Regions from separate parts of the Homo sapiens genome. Here all the other regions are linked to region 1. The links are contacts of gene promoters, found by promoter capture Hi-C in human tissues and cell types (Jung and others, 2019). All regions are on one chromosome and are shown on one strand. The core of a region is centred on a gene start or on the middle of the fragment in contact, and the rest is flanking DNA. Distances in the headings are between cores, read along the strand shown.

Region 1 (3,784 bases), core at 1,285-3,784:
GTCTTCTCTTACAGACTTCCTGCTGTTGTAAGCAACCACTACAGATTTCTCAGAAGTACTGTGGCAAATAAAAATGATTGAGAATCATTATACATTTTCTATTCTACTAGAGAGACAGTTTAAAATAAAATAGGTAAGTATAATCTGAAGAAAATAACAGGAAATAAATAGGACCAATCAAAGCTTTTAAGGATTTGTGCTTATACTGAGGTTCTATCAGGTTCTCACGCTCTGTTAATTTGAAAGCAAAACCATTACATTTAATTGAATGTTTAATAAAATGAATTATCAGTGGCTTGTTTTATTCGGAATTCCATTATTTCTTTTTCCGAATAATATAGTTTTCCAGATTTAAGTGGTAAAAATCAAAGACTTTGTTGTAAATTTTTTTTTTTTTGGAGACAGAGTCTCACTCTTCTTGCCTAGGCTGGAGTACAGTGGCACGATCTCGGCTTACTACAACTTCCACCTCCTGGGTTCAAGCAATTCTCCTGCCTCAGCCTCCTGGATAGCTGGGATTACAGGCGCCTGCCACCACGCCTGGGCTAATTGTTGTACATTTTTAATAGAGACAGGATTTCACCATGTTGGCCAGGCTGGTCTCAAACTCCTGACCTCAGGTGATCTGCCCGCCTTGGCCTCAAAAAGTGCTGGGATTACAGGCGTGAGCCACTGCACCTGGACATAAATCATTATAATAATTGTATGGAATTATTATGAATCACAGCGTCCTGTGTCTACACCCCTTTGTAATGTGACATTGTCACTCTTCTCATAAAAAATTGGAATTTTCCCACTTCTTGAATCTGGGATGGTCTTATGACTTGCTTTGACCAACAGAATATGATGGAGTGATCTTGTACATTTTGGAGTCTAGGCTTTAGGTCTTTGCTTCCACTCTCATCTTCTTAGAATGCTAAGACCACCATGCAGTGGAAAAGCTCCATCTACCAGAAGATGAGAAGCCATGTGGAGAACTAAGACTTCCCAGCCAATAGCCAGCACCAACTGCCAGACACGTAAGTGAGGCCATCTTGAACCCTCCAACCCTAGATGTATTCACGGTTCTCCAGAGAAACAGAACCAATAAGATGTGTGTGTGTGTGTGTGTGTGTGTTTATAAAGATATTTATTTTAAGGACTTGACTCACTTGATTATAGAGCTTCCAAGTCCAAAATCTGCAGGGTGGGTTGGCAGGCTGGAGGCCAGGGAAAAGGTGATGCTACAGTTCAAGTCTGAGAGCCATCTACTGGCAAAATTCCTTCTTGCTCATGGAAGGTCAGTCTTTTGTTCTATTCAGGCCTTCAGTTGATTGGATAAGGCCTACTCACATTATGGAGGGCAATCTGCGTTATTCAAAGTCCCCTGATTTGTTACTCAGAGGTGAGAAAAATCATGGTGTACTAAAGTCACCACAAAAACTTCTGTAGATCATATGGAGAAGCAGGAGAGATGAAGCTGGAGAGCAAAGCAGCAAATCAGCAATTAAAAAAGATGTTTGGAGTTGTTGAGTTTGGAGATGAAAAGTGACAAGATGAATTCTGGATTTTAGACAAAGCAATCCAACGTGTGGATGGAGAGGGATTTGAGAGGAGAAATCAGCTGTTGTCAGTAAGAGTATTTAAATTAGGATACTGGTAACGGGGATGGAGAGACACACGATTATACATGGGAAGTGAGAGCAGAAAGAATTAGGATTATTTCTTGATTTTTTTTTTTTTTTTTTTTTTTTGCTCAGGCAACTGAATAGATGAAGTCATTAATGGAAACCAGGAACACTGAAGAAACAGTGAACAATTAAAGTACTTTGAGTTATCAAAGTGAGATGTCCTGCAGGTAGCTAGACGATACTGGCTGGTAATTCAGGAGAGCTGCTGCGTCCTGTGTAAAAGGAAAAGCAATTCATGGATGGTGGCTAAAGCCAGCTGGCAGGATTTAGGGGATGGGTTAGACCTGCACTTGTTTTGATGGAGAAGAGGCGGGTATAAAGTGGCAGAGTGAGATTACTGTAAAATATCTGCATTCAAAGGGCTAAAAAAAGAGAAATGCTGGAAAGGCTACTTGCTATAAACGCAGCAGGGTAGGTTAAAACAAATTACGAAGCACGGGCGGTGAGGCGCGGTGCTTAAGATTAAGCCCGGCGTGTTTTCGAGTGCACTGATACACAAAAGGGAAAGGGACCCTCCTCACCGGAAGCACAACCTCTGCCCTCTGGGGCATTACACATTCCTCCGCGCCGGAAGAAAGCGTCACGTCGCGTCGCGCCTCGCCCCGCCTCGTTGCGCCTCGCCCCGCCTCGCCCCGTCGGCTTCCCTCAATCCGTACCTCTAGTAAAGAAGAGCTTGTGCCCCTCCCCGACCCCTTACCAAGGGCGAGCTGCGTGGAGTCGTTGGACTGGGCAGAACTTTGGCGGGCAAGGAGACAAACAGCCACACTGTGCTGCCGGGGAAGAGAAGAAGAAGGAAAGGCCAGACACACAGGCGTCGTGCAGCTGCGGAAGGATTCCGTTTCCTGCAGGGGGCGGAGGGATTTGACAGCACGGTAACTTCCGGAAAAGTCCTGAACCTCAGTGGAAAAGCCTTGCAAGAAACAATAACAAACGGGAGGAGGAAGCGATTCTGGGGTTTCTGTGTTGAACGGTTCTTGTCCGCGAAGATGCGCTTCGGCCTCTGTCAGGGGACTTGAACGGGCTTAGTGGGCTTCAGCCAGCTTTTCTCCACCGGTTCCCCACGGGGACCCCCCCCCCCCCCCGGCCGTTGCAATGGCGGGCGTGGGGCCGGGGGGCTACGCGGCGGAGTTCGTGCCACCGCCAGAGTGCCCCGTCTTTGAGCCGAGTTGGGAGGAGTTCACAGATCCGCTCAGCTTTATCGGCCGCATCCGGCCTTTGGCGGAGAAAACCGGCATCTGCAAAATTCGGCCGCCCAAGGTACCTCAGTCTGTGAAGAGAGAGGGGGAGAAGGAAGAATGGGGGAGTCCGTACACTGGGTTTAGCTTTACTTTTCTGATCCTTGTCTCGTTTCATATGTACTCTCTTTTGAGACAACTGGAGCCTGTTTCTGGATGTTTTTGCCTCGGTTTCTTTTGTGGTCTTATGTAGACACGTCTGAAAGCGAGAAAGTGGTGTCTCTTGGGCCTCTTCCGCCTAGAACTTGGGAACTGATACTTTTCTCTCAGCCGTGGGCCTAAAGCCTTTCGTTAGCCGATATGGTGTTTAAAGTACAGTATTATGACGTGACGTATTCTTCCCTCACGTATCCTCATTATGGTTTGATAGTCGGCTATCTCTTTATTCAAGACCTGGTTGGATCAAATATTTGCAGGCCTCATCTCAGGGCTAGGGTTTCTGAAAAGGTTATCTGAGCTCTAGTCTCACCGGATGGTATTACTAGACAAGAACTCCAGACTAATTATTGCCGCAGTGAAAAAGTCTTAGCGGGGAAAGAGAAGGAGCAGCAATAATTCTAAAATTTAGAGGTTTAGGAAAAATTGGTTTATAGTGGAGGTGGAAGGAAATGTTGAAATCTCTTGACGTAGGGAACTCAAGATCAACGATTTTAGAATCACAGTTATTGCAGATAACTAGGTTTGCCTATAAGGTTAATTATAATCTCACCTTTGAGGTAAGGAAAACAGATACTATCCCTTGTGTGGAGGGGATTAATGCCCCAAGAGGTTGAGTGATTACTCAAGGTCAAAGGTGTTTTTCTTTACTCATTAGACCAGTGCTTTTTAAATGATGTTGCTGGACCACTTGCACCAGGGTCAACTGGATGCTTGTTTAAA
Region 2 (3,784 bases), core at 765-3,264, 1.3 Mb before region 1:
TCCCGGGTTTAAACGATTCTCCTGCCTCAGCCTCCCGGGCAGCTGGGATAACAAGAGTGCGCCACCACACCCGGCTAATTTTTGTAGTTTTAATAGGGACGGGGTTTCACCATGTTGGCCAAGCTGGTCTCAAACTCCTGATCTCAGGTTATCTGCCCGCCTCGACCTCCCAAAGTGCTGGGATTACCAGCGTGAGCGATCGCACCAGGCCTAATCAAATCTTTATTTACAAAAAGAGGCAACTGGCAGGACTGGGCCTGCAGGCTTTAAAATCTGTCAATCCCTGAAATAAAGAATAAAACAAAATTATTTTCATTTTAGGAAACAAAATGTGATTTATACTAAAAAAAAAAAGTGCACCAGCTAAATTGATACTATTGATAGAAAAAACCATTTATTTATAAATTCATACAAGGAGCCTAGGGATAGAAAAAAAAAACAAACTCTCTTTTAGGCTCTGGAAATCCTACTCCCATTCCTAGTGTCAAGTGAAAAGAGGAAATCTGCTAAGCAGACCAAAGTCTAGATAGGAACGTATACTGGAGGACAGACAGTTACAATCAGAAGTTAAAAGAAATATGCCTTTCACATTTAATTTGCAATTTTTTCAAATTTCATAATTCACCAACAAGCAGCTGCCACATGTGTGGAAATCTTTACTGATGAAATAATTTTAGTTGCAGATCATCACAATCAACACTCTGACAACAAATTTATCAGAACGGATGAAAACATCTAGGAATTACCTAAGAGTCGTTTAAGGAGACATAAGGGTGGCCTTTGATAAGAGGTCACTTCAAACTTTCAGAACTGACAAGACGTATAGCCTCCCCCCAAAAAATAATGCTATGGGTAGATGGATGCTTTTTTCTGAAGGAATTTTTAGCATTTCATTTGGAAAAGTTCTGTGATCAAATAATGCTAAATGTTATGACAGCTTTCTTGGCGTTTAAAGGGATTCTCTGGGTGAGGGGAAGGGGTGATAAAAAAAAAAAAAGTCTGCTTTTGGAACAGAAATGGGGGACAATAACCAAGGCTCAGAAACCCAGAGTCAAAAAATTAAAAGAACATCTTATTTTAAAAAAAAAGTCAACAACCTGCAATGAAGTCACCGTACCCCCATAAAATCCCAACTGTGCATTTAAATCTTTCTACCAAAATTCACTTTTGGACCATCTTATGAAGTTGTCAAAATTTCAGAGGCAAACGCTTAAATCAAGATCAAAAGCCAGGAGGAAAAAAGAGCTAACAGTTTCCAACCCAAACTCTCTCCGAGCCCCCTAAAAACTGATTTATAACCCTGTCATCGGTAATTTTAGAAGAAGCGAACACTGACGGACGGGGGCTTGGGAAAACAGGACTCCAGGTACCAAGCAGGCTGCCTGACGCGCCACCTGAAAAAGGTGAGGGAACTCTTCCCCACCCCAGTCACTGTGAAAGTAGCGCTGAGAGAGCCCATCCCAAGCCTCCACCAAACAAATTCCTAGAAGTGATAAAAACAGACAAGAGACGAAGAGGGGCGGGCAGATCCTCTCCGCGGGCAGGGAGCTGGAGCAACTGCACCCGAAGGTGAGCAGAGGGCAGCAGGCTCCGACCCTCCGCCGCGAAAGGCGAGGCGAGGGGAACAGCGGGCGCCGGACTCCTCCGACAGCGGTCGCAAGGAGGGCGGCTCCAGGTCCCCACACGGCCGACCCTCAGGCCAAGGCGCGCCGGGCGGCAGGTCAGAGTTAGGAATCAAGTTGCGGGCCGGGCCGAGAGCGCGCTCTCCCGCCCGCGCCAGGGACATTCGCCCCTCAGCTCTCACCTCCCCCCGACCCCAAGCTCTCCCTCTGCGCCCAGGAAACGGCGCCCACACTCCAGAGACCCTCACCCGGAGCCCGTCGCCGCCTCACCGCGTGTCTCGGACTTCTTGGGAGCCACCGCTGAGGGGAGGGGGGAGGAGGGGGGAACGGAGGAGGGAGGGGGCCAAGCCCGGTGTAGCCGCCGCCGCTGCCGCCGCCGCGATGCCGCTTCTGGAATCGCGCTCTCGCCGCCGCGACAGCGACCGCCGCCGCCGCGTCTCCCCGCCCCCACGACCGCACGTCGCCGTGACGCGCATCGCACGAGGCGGTTCGAGCCAATAAGACCACACGCCGTGCGCAGCCGCGCTGTCCTAAACCGGAAGCCGCCCCTCTGACCGCTCTAAAACCTGGGTGCATCGTGGGAGCTGTGGTTCGGCCAGGAACTTAGCGAAAACTATACTGGGTGTTGAGGGCCGGAGGAGCGTGCGCTCCTTAGGCGCTCACACAACTCCTCGGAGTTTTTTCTCCCACCGAAAAAGGAAGCAATTTGGAGCTGAGGAGGAGGGGGCCGCCCCGGCTCGCGGATGCTTTTCGCAGTCTCTATGGATACTGGCTACACACTTTGGGCAAGAGCCAGAATTTGAGGATTTAGGCTGGATCGTGTGTCTCTGCCAAGGGCTGATAGGATGCTGAGCGTCGTCTGTGAAGACTGCGGAAAGAAATCCAAAAGCATTAGCCCAGTTTTGCCCAGAGCAATAGTGTTTGCCTTTTATTACCTTATTAAAGATTATGATTTATGCTCTACCACTTCTATTTTTTTTAAAACCCAGTCACTCTTAAAATACATATAATTCAGAGCGATTTTTAAAATGATGTTAATGTAATGGTATATCAGAACCTACTTAAGCACTAAATACCTGCGTCCATTTACCCAGAATGAGTAAGTAATTTTCCACAAGTCATCTTTACGTTGAGTTCTAACTTCTTAGAAGCCAAGAACAGATTTGGTTACGTACTTATTCTATAAGAAAAGTGAATATAAGAGTTAGTCTGCGTAGAAAAATAGTTCTTTACATTCAGTAGGAGGGGGAATTTATCACATTCTTAAGGCGTAAATGCCTTAACTATCAAAATTCTTGTTATTGACTAAAGGAAATCCATACGATTTAGGGAAAGTCTGTGCCCACGGCTTACTGTCCTTACCTTTGGACCACAGCAAGAGATAACAAAGGGTGCAGGGAAAAGCTGACAGGTCTTGAGGGAGCTGGAGTCGGATATATGACGAAAAAAACAAAAATACAGAAGTCTTCATTATGGAAATGTAAGTTTTAAAAAGTAAAGCTACTAAAATCACAAAGAACATGATTAAGATGGCAATAATACAGAACTAAGGCCCACTCATTTAAGCTTGAAAGAGATAAAACTAGTAGAAATTAAAATTAGGAAATAAATGTTAAAGGAACTAATTTCCTCCAAGGAGTGGTTTACATTGAAAATATAATTTTTTTAAGTTTACATAATTTGTGAAAGACATAATAATAATGACTTCTATGTTCCCAGGTAAAGATGTAAAGCTTTTGAGGTTGAAATCAAGGAAGACAATTGTACACCTCCTCAGCACATCAGAAACAATACAGGCATTTCTGGATTGTGAATTTGACCCGTTATACCAACTCACATAGAACAGAGATAAGAAGTATAAGATTCTTAGGCTTAATAAAGAGTCTACTAAAGGTGACAGAACTAGAGCGAAAAAGATAATTTTCTTAAAAAGAGATTCTTCAAAGATCTCCAATCTTTCCTGCATCCCTTTCTCTTAAAGACTGGTTTCCAGGCCAAGCGTGGTGGCTCACACCTGTAATCCTAGCACTTTGGGAGGCCGAGATGGGCAGATCACTTGAGGTCAGGAGTTCAAAACCAGCCTGGCCAACATGGCGAAACCCCGTCTCTACAAAAATACAAAAAATTAGCCAAGCATGGTCGCGCGTGCCTGTAATCCCAGG
Region 3 (3,784 bases), core at 426-2,925, 1.2 Mb before region 1:
GAACAAACAGACCTTGAGATAATTTGTGTGCACAGAAGTAAACTTTTCTTGACCCATTAAACCCCTTCTGACTTAAAAAATAAATAAATAAAAACTTTTTAAAATTGAAACAAAACACACAGAGTTAAAACGCACAAGTCTTAAATGTACAGCTTGATGAGTTTCCACATATGCATAGACGCATGAAACTAAGACCCAGACCAAGAACCACCTAACCATGGGCAAACCAAACTGATATGCTGCAGATAAATGCAAGAGTAGAATCTAGTTGGATCTCTAATATACCTTTTAAAAGTTGTTTTAGCTGGGCAGTGAGGTCCACGCCGGAAATCCCAGCATTTTGGGAGGCTGAGGCAGGTGGATCACTTGAGACCAGGAGTTAGAGACCAGCCTGGGCAATATAGGGACACCCTGTCTCTACAAAAAATTTTAAAATTAGCTGGGTGTGGTGGCGCATGCCTGTAGTCCCAGCTGCTTGGTAGGCTGGGGCAGGAGAATTGCTTGAGACCAGCAGTTCAAGGCTGCAGTGAGCCATGATTACACCACTGCACTCCAGCCTGAGCAACAGAGTGAGACCCTGTCTCAAAAAACAAAACAAAACAAAACAAAACAAAACAAAAAGAAAAAGAAATGAAAATATAAAAGTTGTTTTATTGTTGTTGTTTATTCTGATATTTAGAGACAGTTTACTCCTTCTGGGGCTTTGTGGGTGGGAAGTCAACTAACAAGGATCTAGGAAACACTAGGAAATATTCTCCCAGCAGGCACACACACACTCATTCAGGATAGTATTTTCCACTTGTTGGCCGGGCGCAGTGTCTCACACCTGTAATCCCAGCACTTTGGGAGGACGAGGCGGGTGGCTCACTTGAGGTCAGGAGTTCGAGACCAGCCTGACCAACATGGAGAAACCCCGTCTCTACTAAAAATGCAAAATTAGCCAGGCGTGGTGGCTGGCTGTAGTGGAACTTCTCGGGAGGCTGAGGTGGGAGGATCACCCCAGGAGCCCAGGAGCCCAGGATCCCAGGAGGTTGAGGCTGCAGTGAGCCATGATTATGCCATTGCACTTCAGCCTAGGCAACAGAGTGAGACCCTGTCTCAAAAAGAAAAAAAAAAGAATTTTCTACTTGTTTAGGGATCTCTCAGGATCCCTAACATGTAAGAAATATTTAGGAAACCAGGCTCTGACTTACTGCCACCACGTATTTTGCATCCCTAATATTTAGTAACAGGGCGTGAAGCAGTTGACTTTTATATGTAATCTGGGCGCTTCCTCTTACATAACACCAGAAACTTCTCGTTCTCTCCAACTTTTTTTTCCGTTTGTAAGACATTTCTTTCCCATGGTAGGACAGTGACAGTTGACAATGCTTTTTTTCCAGATCTTCCATTCTTCTTTTTCTAGCTTTGTCTTAGAATTAAAATGAACAGTTTCAAAAATAAACTTGATTTTCTTTAAAAGAAAGAAAACAAAACAAACAAAAACCCTTAGTTTGGAACACAACCCATGGTTGGAAGTGAACCACCTGCTCTCTCCCACAGCCATGGATAATTCAGTGTTACCCATGGGATTATGCTGGCCAAGGATTTCAAAATGCTCATATTTCAAGCACTTACTATCTTATACTATATAACACTGAAAAATACTAGTTAGCATATTAATTCATGTAGTAGCCCCAACTTTCTGTCAGTTTGTGACATCTTACAGGGTGTTTTTAATAAGCAATAGGTTTACAATGAAAGTTGTGATGGTCAGGATGTTAATATAGCATTAAGGAAGCAAATGTGTATTAAACTTTATTAGCAGCTCCTGGGCATTTCCTGTAGTGAAGCTTTACAGACTAAGACACATTTCTGATGTAATCACAAGGCAAGCTGATTCAATTTTGGCTCTGCCAGCGGTGACAATTTCTTAGTATACTATTGTTTAAAGTATGCCCTACTTTTTAAAGTTTATAGATATAAAAGCAGGAAAATGGCTGAAAGAGGGATCCCAAAGATTGTGTTTTCCATTTTCCCATAGCACTTCAGCAGCCATTGACATGCCTGAGGACATCCATCATCACTCCATCTGAAATTTCTCCTTTTCCTCCCTTTATTGCCGGAAGATCACTGAGCAACCCTAATCACACAGCAGTCTAAGTGATCAAACTTTTATGTACTGCAGCGAATTTCTTACCATTCCAATTGCTCACAAATTTATTGAAATATCAAGTAAAAAGGCAACAATAGGCCAGGTGCAGTGGCTCCTACCTGTAATCCCAGCACTTTGGGAGGCCGAGACGGGTGGATCACCTGAACTCAGGAGTTCAAGACCAGCCTGGCCAACATGGTGAAACCCCGTCTCTACTAAAAATACAAAAAAAAAAAAATTAGCTGAGCGTGGTGGTACATGCCTGTAGTCCCAGCTATTCGGGAGGCTGAGGCAGGAGAATCCCTTGAACCCGGGAGGCGGAGGTTGCAGTGAGCCGAGATCGCATCACTGCACTCCAGCCTGGGTGACAAGAGCGAGACTCCGTCTCAAAATAAATAAAGGCAACAATAGCAGATGACTGCAATCCTGAGTGTGCGCCTGGGTGAGGAGACTCAAAGACGCTCGGCATGTCGGAGGAGAGATGCGTTCAACCTGAATTGTTCCCGTGACCCTGAGAAAGTGACTTCTCATTCTCTGCTTTATTTTCATTTGTAAACAAATAAAAAGCAAGCAAACAAAAAGCAACCATTGTCATTAAATGTCTACACAGTGCTTTTGTTAAATATTTACACCTGCTTTGAGTGTCATCTGGTCACTAAGATTTGCTATTATGTGACAACTCTCATTTAGGTTCCCTGAACCAGTTAAATTAAGGAAATTAAGGAATTCTTTTTTTTTTCTTTCTTTCTTTTTTTTTCTGAGACAGAGTCTTGCTCTGTCACCCAGGCTGGAGTGCAGTTGCGTGATCTCAGTTCACTGCAACCTCCGCCTCCCCAGTTCAAGCAATTCTGCCTCAGCCTCCTGAGTAGCTAGGATTACAGGTGTGCTCCACCAGACCCAGCTAATTTTTGTATTTTTAGTAGAGACAGGGTTTCACCATGTTGGCCAGGCTGATCCCGAACTCCTGACCTCGTAATCCACCTGCCTTGGCCTCCCAAAGTGTTGGGATTACAGGCCTGAGCCACTGCACCTGGCCCATTAAAGAATTCTTGATGGTTACAACAGTAGCCACTGATTTCTTATGTTAGTTACTTGAACTCTTTGGCCTTCAATAGTAAGTTAGTTAGTTAGTTAGTTAGTTTGTTTGTTTATTTTGAGACGGAGTCTTGCTCTGTCGCCCAGGCTGGAGTGCAGTTGCTCGATCTCAGCTGACTGCAACCTCCGTCTCCCAGGTTCATGCGATTCTCCTGCTTCAGCCTCCTGAGCAGGTGGGATTACAGGCGTACACCATCACACTGGCTAATTTTTGTATTTTTAGTAGAGATGAGGTTTCACCATGTTGGCCAGGCTGATCTCAAACTCCTGACCTCAAGTGATCTGCCTACCTCGGCCTCCCAAAGTGCTGGGATTACAGGCGTGAGCCACCGCGCCTGGCCAAATAGTTTAAAAATAAAAAATAAACAACAAAGAATCTCACTGAAGCTTGAGATTGAAGCTCAGTCTGAAGCCCCAGGCAAGCTGTTCCAACTTTAGAGAAAATGTGGACAGGGTTTTCATGCCTCTTTAATTTCCTGCACACAAGGCGGGAAGGTCAGTGCTTGGTGTTACTGACCTCTTTAGGAATGACTGGATTCAGGAAGGCAGTGGCAT

Evidence for each region. The method cuts DNA at HindIII sites, captures the fragments that hold promoters and counts their contacts. A contact is called where the count stands out against the background at its distance.
Region 2: a contact is called between the fragment with the promoter of ADIPOR2 here and the fragment with the promoter of KDM5A in region 1, in 1 of the 25 tissues and cell types used here (hippocampus).
Region 3: a fragment that was not itself captured here is called in contact with the fragment with the promoter of KDM5A in region 1 in 1 of the 25 tissues and cell types used here (dorsolateral prefrontal cortex).

The regions. Positions count from the first base shown.
Region 1 is chr12:388,070-391,853 of GRCh38, reverse strand. KDM5A (lysine demethylase 5A) reads left to right here and starts at 2,534. Exons shown (of 28, transcript NM_001042603.3): 1 at 2,534-2,927. The coding sequence starts at 2,763. LOC105369594 (a long non-coding RNA gene) reads left to right here. Exons shown (of 4, transcript XR_007063149.1): 3 at 15-133; 4 at 913-1,821. It also overlaps a transcript of CCDC77 not described here. RefSeq lists an enhancer at 2,077-2,371. The HindIII fragment of the contact is 14,723 bases long and covers 1-3,784 here.
Region 2 is chr12:1,689,300-1,693,083 of GRCh38, reverse strand. ADIPOR2 (adiponectin receptor 2) reads right to left here and starts at 2,014. Exons shown (of 8, transcript NM_024551.3): 1 at 1,893-2,014. RefSeq lists silencers at 1,712-1,801, 1,822-2,121 and enhancers at 1,620-2,198, 2,282-2,331, 2,352-2,511. The HindIII fragment of the contact is 10,259 bases long and covers 837-3,784 here.
Region 3 is chr12:1,606,423-1,610,206 of GRCh38, reverse strand. No RefSeq gene overlaps it. Among named protein-coding and RNA genes, the nearest start is that of FBXL14, 14 kb to the right of the region's middle. The HindIII fragment of the contact is 7,541 bases long and covers 1-3,784 here.